2 separate regions of the Homo sapiens genome follow, and region 1 is linked to region 2. The links are contacts of gene promoters, found by promoter capture Hi-C in blood cells and fetal thymus (Javierre and others, 2016). All regions are on one chromosome and are shown on one strand. The core of a region is centred on a gene start or on the middle of the fragment in contact, and the rest is flanking DNA. Distances in the headings are between cores, read along the strand shown. Region 1 overlaps PGD (phosphogluconate dehydrogenase). Region 2 holds the start of LZIC (leucine zipper and CTNNBIP1 domain containing).

What was found. Contacts are between HindIII fragments. The CHiCAGO score rates a contact against its expected background, and 5 or more counts as called.
Region 1: a contact is called between a fragment that was not itself captured here and the fragment with the promoter of LZIC in region 2, in 2 of 17 cell types (activated CD4 T cells and naive CD8 T cells). The highest score is 6.2, in activated CD4 T cells.

The regions. Positions count from the first base shown.
Region 1 is chr1:10,414,665-10,417,364 of GRCh38, forward strand. PGD (phosphogluconate dehydrogenase) reads left to right here. Exons shown (of 13, transcript NM_002631.4): 9 at 2,323-2,453. Among named protein-coding and RNA genes, the nearest start is that of CENPS, 14 kb to the right of the region's middle. The HindIII fragment of the contact is 991 bases long and covers 920-1,910 here.
Region 2 is chr1:9,941,772-9,944,647 of GRCh38, forward strand. LZIC (leucine zipper and CTNNBIP1 domain containing) reads right to left here and starts at 1,620. Exons shown (of 8, transcript NM_032368.5): 1 at 1,478-1,620; 2 at 853-1,011. It overlaps NMNAT1 (nicotinamide nucleotide adenylyltransferase 1), which reads left to right and starts at 1,704. Exons shown (of 5, transcript NM_022787.4): 1 at 1,704-1,744. RefSeq lists enhancers at 649-1,219, 753-1,952, 1,220-1,789. The HindIII fragment of the contact is 30,819 bases long and covers 1-2,876 here.

The DNA of each region.
Region 1 (2,700 bases), core at 165-2,664, 470 kb after region 2:
CCATGCCCAGCAAAGGTGGTTCTAAGAGTAAAATACATAGACTTCTGGCAGGAATGAAAAAGGAGAACGAAGGATGCCTCTCGTGGTTAATGAGAGGCTGATCTTTGCTTCTGGCAGATTGTTCTCACTATATTAAAACAGAATTGGGCCAGGCGCGGTGGCTCACGCCTGTAATCCCAGCACTTTGGGTGACCGAGGTGGGCGGATCACGAGGTCAGGAGTTTGAGTCCAGCCTGACCAACATGGCGAAACCCCATCTCTACTAAAAATACGAAAGTTAGCCAGGCATAGTGACCCGTGCCTGTAATCCCAGCTACTCAGGAGGCTGAGGCAGGAGAATCACTTGAACCTGGGAGGCGGAATTTGCAGTGGGCTGAGATCGCACCACTGCACTCCAGGCTGGGCGACCGAGCAAGACTCCGCCTAAAAAAAAAAAAAGAAGCATCTCAAAAATAATAAAACAGAATTTTTCCTGTTTGCTCCTCTGGATACAGGTTGCCTTTCTCTCCCTTGACTCTTCTCCCCTTTTGACCTCCCTGTTCATTGTGCCTCGCCCTATTGAACTGTGTGGTGTAAGGCAGAGTAAGGAGGAAAGTCGGTGGTTTCTACAGTTCCGTGCTGTATAGAAGGAAGTTGGCTGCTTTTAGCCGATCTGAGCCATAACATAGGTGAGGAGGGAGGGGCCAATAGCTAGGAGCAATTTATTCATCACGGACTCAAGTATATGTGTAAGTATTAGGATCTCAGAATCCTACTCTCCTCCTGTGGATCCATATACCTCTTCCCCCAGGGTGGCTGGGCCCACCCCCTGCTGGGAGCCATCATTATTTGTGAACTAACAGGGAAGTCTTCCAGCTGCCCTCTCCCCCTCTAACAGGAAGGGTTTGCCTCATAGCCTGTTGCACCAGTCATCTTACAAAGCTTCCTTCTAGAAATGCTAAGTCATCCTGTGTGTGCATTTGGGCCAGGAGAGAGGTAGCTGCTTTTGTGTGTTTGGAGTAGGGTTAGCAGTCTCAAGCCATAGCTGCTCCTCTTTCCTCAGAAATAAAGTCCTCTGTTAGTTCCCTGAGATTTTACTTCATTTTGTCTATGGGGGAAAAAGTGGTTAAAGAGTCATTTATTCTAACTATAAGTTGTCAGTTGAGCAAGTCTTTTATAAGGAATACTTTCTGAAAATACTAAATGTCTTAATATTAAAATACTACATTGACTTTTTAATTCAAATGAAGTAAAGTGGTTAAACTTGAATGATTACGGCTATACTGAAAACCGTAAAATATAAAAACCTAACATTTTTTTGAGAGGTGAGTCCGTAAATGTGACTTATCAATGTAAAATCTTCAAAAAAAAAAATTAAGGTCCTCTAAATTGAATTTGAAATTTTACTCATGGACCAACACTGAGTATTCTACATAACAGTGGTTTTTATTTTATTTTACTGGTTTTAGAGACAGGGTCTCACTGTGTTGCCCAGGCTGGAGAGCAGTGGTGTGATCATGGCTCACTGTAGCCTTGAACTCCTGGGCTCAAGTGATCCTCCCACCTCAGCCTGCCAAAGTGCTGGGATTACAGGTGTTAGCCACCTTGCCCAGCCATAACAGTGGTTTCTATCTCTTCATTTTCCCTCAAAACTCCCTTTTGAATTTCATGTTAATCTTTGTGATTGAATACTCATGTTTGTATTGGAAGATTGTCTTAAGAGTTTTAGTTATCAAATTAACTGTTTAGAGCTTCTTATAAAAGTTCCTTCCGATCCATGTCAACTTTTGTGGCCTAAGGTTGAAACTTTCAGCTCTTTGTATAAACAGACTTTCCTGCTCCACCTTTCTTCTGGTTGCTGTGCGAACTTTGGTAATTTTCATGCGCATCCGTGTGAAAAGACCACCAAACAGGCTTTGTGTGAGCAATAAAGCTTTTTAATCACCTGGGTGCAGGCAGGTTGAGTCCGAAGAGTCAGCGAAGGGAGATAGGGGTGGGGCCATTTTATAGGATTTGGGCAGGTAGTGGAAAATTACAGTCAAAGGGGGTTTTTCTCTTACGGGCAGGGCCGAGGGGTCACAAGGTGCTCAGTTGGGGAGGTTCTGAGCCAGGAGAAGGAATGTCACAAGGTTAATCGCTCAGTTAAGGTGGGGCAGGAACAAATCACAATGGTGGAATGTCATCAGTAAAGGCAGGAACCAGCCATTTTCACTTCTTTTGTGATTCTTCACTTGCTTCAGGCCATCTGGATGTATACATGCAGGTCACAGGGGATATGATAGTTTAGCTTGGGCTCAGAGGCCTGACAGTAATCTGTTTCCTCTTCCCGATCTCCCCATGTAGGAGAAGCTGTCTTTGCTCGGTGCTTATCATCTCTGAAGGATGAGAGAATTCAAGCTAGCAAAAAGCTGAAGGGTCCCCAGAAGTTCCAGTTTGATGGTGATAAGAAATCATTCCTGGAGGACATTCGGAAGGTGGGACACAGTCCCTGGCAGTGGTCTTTGTTGGTCCTGCGGAAGGCAGTGGGGGTGGGGGTTGTGGTGGGAGAACACTCGAGGCCACAGGATGGCAGGTGGAATGAAGTTCAGCCTTGACTTGGATCTTGACTTACAATGTTTTCCTAGAATATTGGCCCTTCTGGGATCTCCACTGCTGATGAGAATAAGACTGGTAGACATAAGGCGGTCACTCTCCTAATGGCAATCCTAGTAGGTCTCTGTG
Region 2 (2,876 bases), core at 370-2,869:
CAGGCGTGAGCCACCGCACCCGGCCTTTACCTTTTCTTTATACACCAGCATCCAGCACAATCTTGGACAGACAAAAAGTGCCGAATAAACAACTGGTAGATGAATAATGAGAATTGATTGCTTCTTCTTTAGCATTCAAATCTTTTTTTTTAAAATTTTTTTTGAGACGGAGTCTCGCTCTGTCGTCCAGGATGGAGTGCAGTGGCGCGATCTCGGCTCACTGCAACCTCAGCCTCCTGGGTTCAAGCAATTCTCCTGCCTCAGCCTCTCCAGTAGCTGGGACTACAGGCATGCGTCACCACATCTGGCTAATTTTTGTATTTTTAGTAGAGATGGGGTTTCACCATGTTGTCCAGGCGAGTCTTGAACTCCTGACCTCTGGTGATCCACTTGCCTCAGTCTCCCAAAGTGATGGGATTACAGGCGTGAGTCACCGCGCCCAGCTCAAATCTTATTCTCTATTTAGCACTTATTTCTGCCTTTAATTATATATGATTTTATTATAATACGTTATCTCCTCTGACTAAACTCTGGAGAACAGAATATGAGTCTGATTCCTCTCTCAGCTTTCTCAGTACCTAATACAGAATAGAACGTCGATAATTTGGTCACGTATATAAAGGCTCAACATATTTTAAGGAGCTAAAGCTATTCTGAATACATTTCAGTAAAAATGGGTGCATTTTAAAAGCCTTAACCTGGTACTACATTAGTTGAGATTTATCCCCGAAAGATTAACTCGTTGGCACCACCTAGTAGTCACTAAATGTGGTGCACTTTTCACTTTTACGAAACTACAGAAACCGCTCTCAGACACTATATCTGGAGCGGAGGGTCCTCATTCATGCTCACCTGTCTCTTAGTACTCTGATCTCTGCACAGTGCCGACCGGTCTCAAATTGCACAAACCTCCAGTTCTTGACGTTCCGAGTGTCATAAACTTGAGGAAAATGAAATTATTCATCAGGACTACAAAAGGCTCAAAGTTCAAACCACCTCGGGGTGGAGATGCTGGAAAAAAGGAAACCATTAACAAGTAATTTTATTTGCTATATATAAACTTGCCCTAAGGCAGTCCAGATAACTTCCACTTGAGCAGCCTGAGACATCAAGGGCGGGGGCACTTTCCCCCTCGACTGCGCCTACCGCAGCCTTTCTGAGTTTCTTCCTAGCGAGGCCGAGAGGGTCTTTGAGGAAAATCCCGCATCCGGACACGCCTTGAGGGATGGCGTCAAACCCAGAGGCTTGGAAAAGGTAAGGGCGGAGAGCACGCCTCTTCCTTGAAAGTGAGGAGGGTTTGGCCCAGAACCAACAGGACTGGGTGAAGAATCAGCTCCGGCCACCGCAGCAAATCCCACCCCACGCGGGAACTTGAAGTCCGGCACGTAGGTCCCGCGGCGGCCGGGCTCCAACAGGCCCCAATTGCCACCAGAGGTAGCCGTAAACCCATGGTCCCCGAAACTCCTTCCGGGCCTACCTGACAAAAACTGGGACAACCTCCTTAGGCCCCCGGGATTCCCCCTGTGCCGCCTGACCGCCCGCCAGTCCCAGAGTTTAGGGCCAGGGGCCCCGCCTACCTGAGGGCACTGGCCTGGCGGACCGCGCCGGGGGAGCACTTCCGCTGGACGCACGCACTTCCGGCCCCCTGGAACCAATGAGAGTGCGACCGAGATGTTCCACTCGCTGGCGTCCGGGCCGCTGGTGATCTCCGGTAGCACTCGGGCCGGCGGACAGTGAGGGCGCGGTAAGCTCCCCGCAAGGAGCCCCTGAGAAACTGGTCGCTTTTTGTCCTAGATATAGGGGAGTCCAGGATGGTGTGGTGGAGTCTTTAGAGTCGAATATGACCCGAGGCAAGCTCATATTCAGGTTTGGGGCAAGGAGCTTTGATTGACCCTTAATTTTTTCAGTGGAACGGAAAACTTCGGTAAAATAGCTTCTGACCTTCGGAACAGATGGATTCACCTTGGAAAGGAAAAATCTCTTTCTAGAAGAGTCTTGAGGTCTGGCACCTTTAGGCTTAACGGGGGACGGCTGGGCGTCAGAGGAGGAAATCCTTCATTCCGAACGACTTCCCTTTCCTCCTAAATCCTTCTTTCCAAATCTGTAAAAGACTACATCTACTTTGCTGGAGGTGGTTTGACACTCATGCTCCTTGAGAAGGAGGTAATGAGCTGTAGGGCAGCTCTTAAAAAGTTACCCTTGGACGGGCGCGGTGGCTCACGCCTGTAATCCCAGCACTTTGGGAGGCCGAGGCAGGCGGATCACGAGGTCAGGAGTTCGAGACCAGCCTGGCCAACATAGTGAAACCCCGTCTCTACTAAAAATACAAAAAATTAGCTGGGCGTGGTGGTGGGCGCCTGTAATCTCAGCTACTCGGGAGGCTGAGGCAGGAGAATCGCTTGAATCCTGGAGGCGGAGGTTACAGTGAGCCGAGATCGCGCCATTGCACTCCAGCCGGGGCGACAGTTCGAGACTCCATCTCAAAAATAAAAATAAAAAAAAGTTACCCTTGGCTGTCGCGGTGTGACACCTGTAAACCCAGCACTTTGAGAGCCCGCGGTGGGAGGATCATTTGAGCCCAGGCTGGGCAACATAGCAAGACCCTCATAACAAAAAATTAAAAATAAAATTACCCAGAAACTGGTTGGAACTATTTAATGATGTTCTTAGTCCATCTTCCTGAAGTAGTCCACAGAACAACATCAGTGTTCATGGTAGAATTGTTTCATCAGGGCAGTTTTTTTTTAAGTAACAATGTCTTGTTAAAAAACAAGAGCTGTGTTGCCCAGGCTGGAGTGCAGTGGTGTGATCATAGCTCACTGCAGCCTTGAACTCCTGGGCTCAAGCGATCCTCTGGCCTTGGCCCCTCAAAGTGT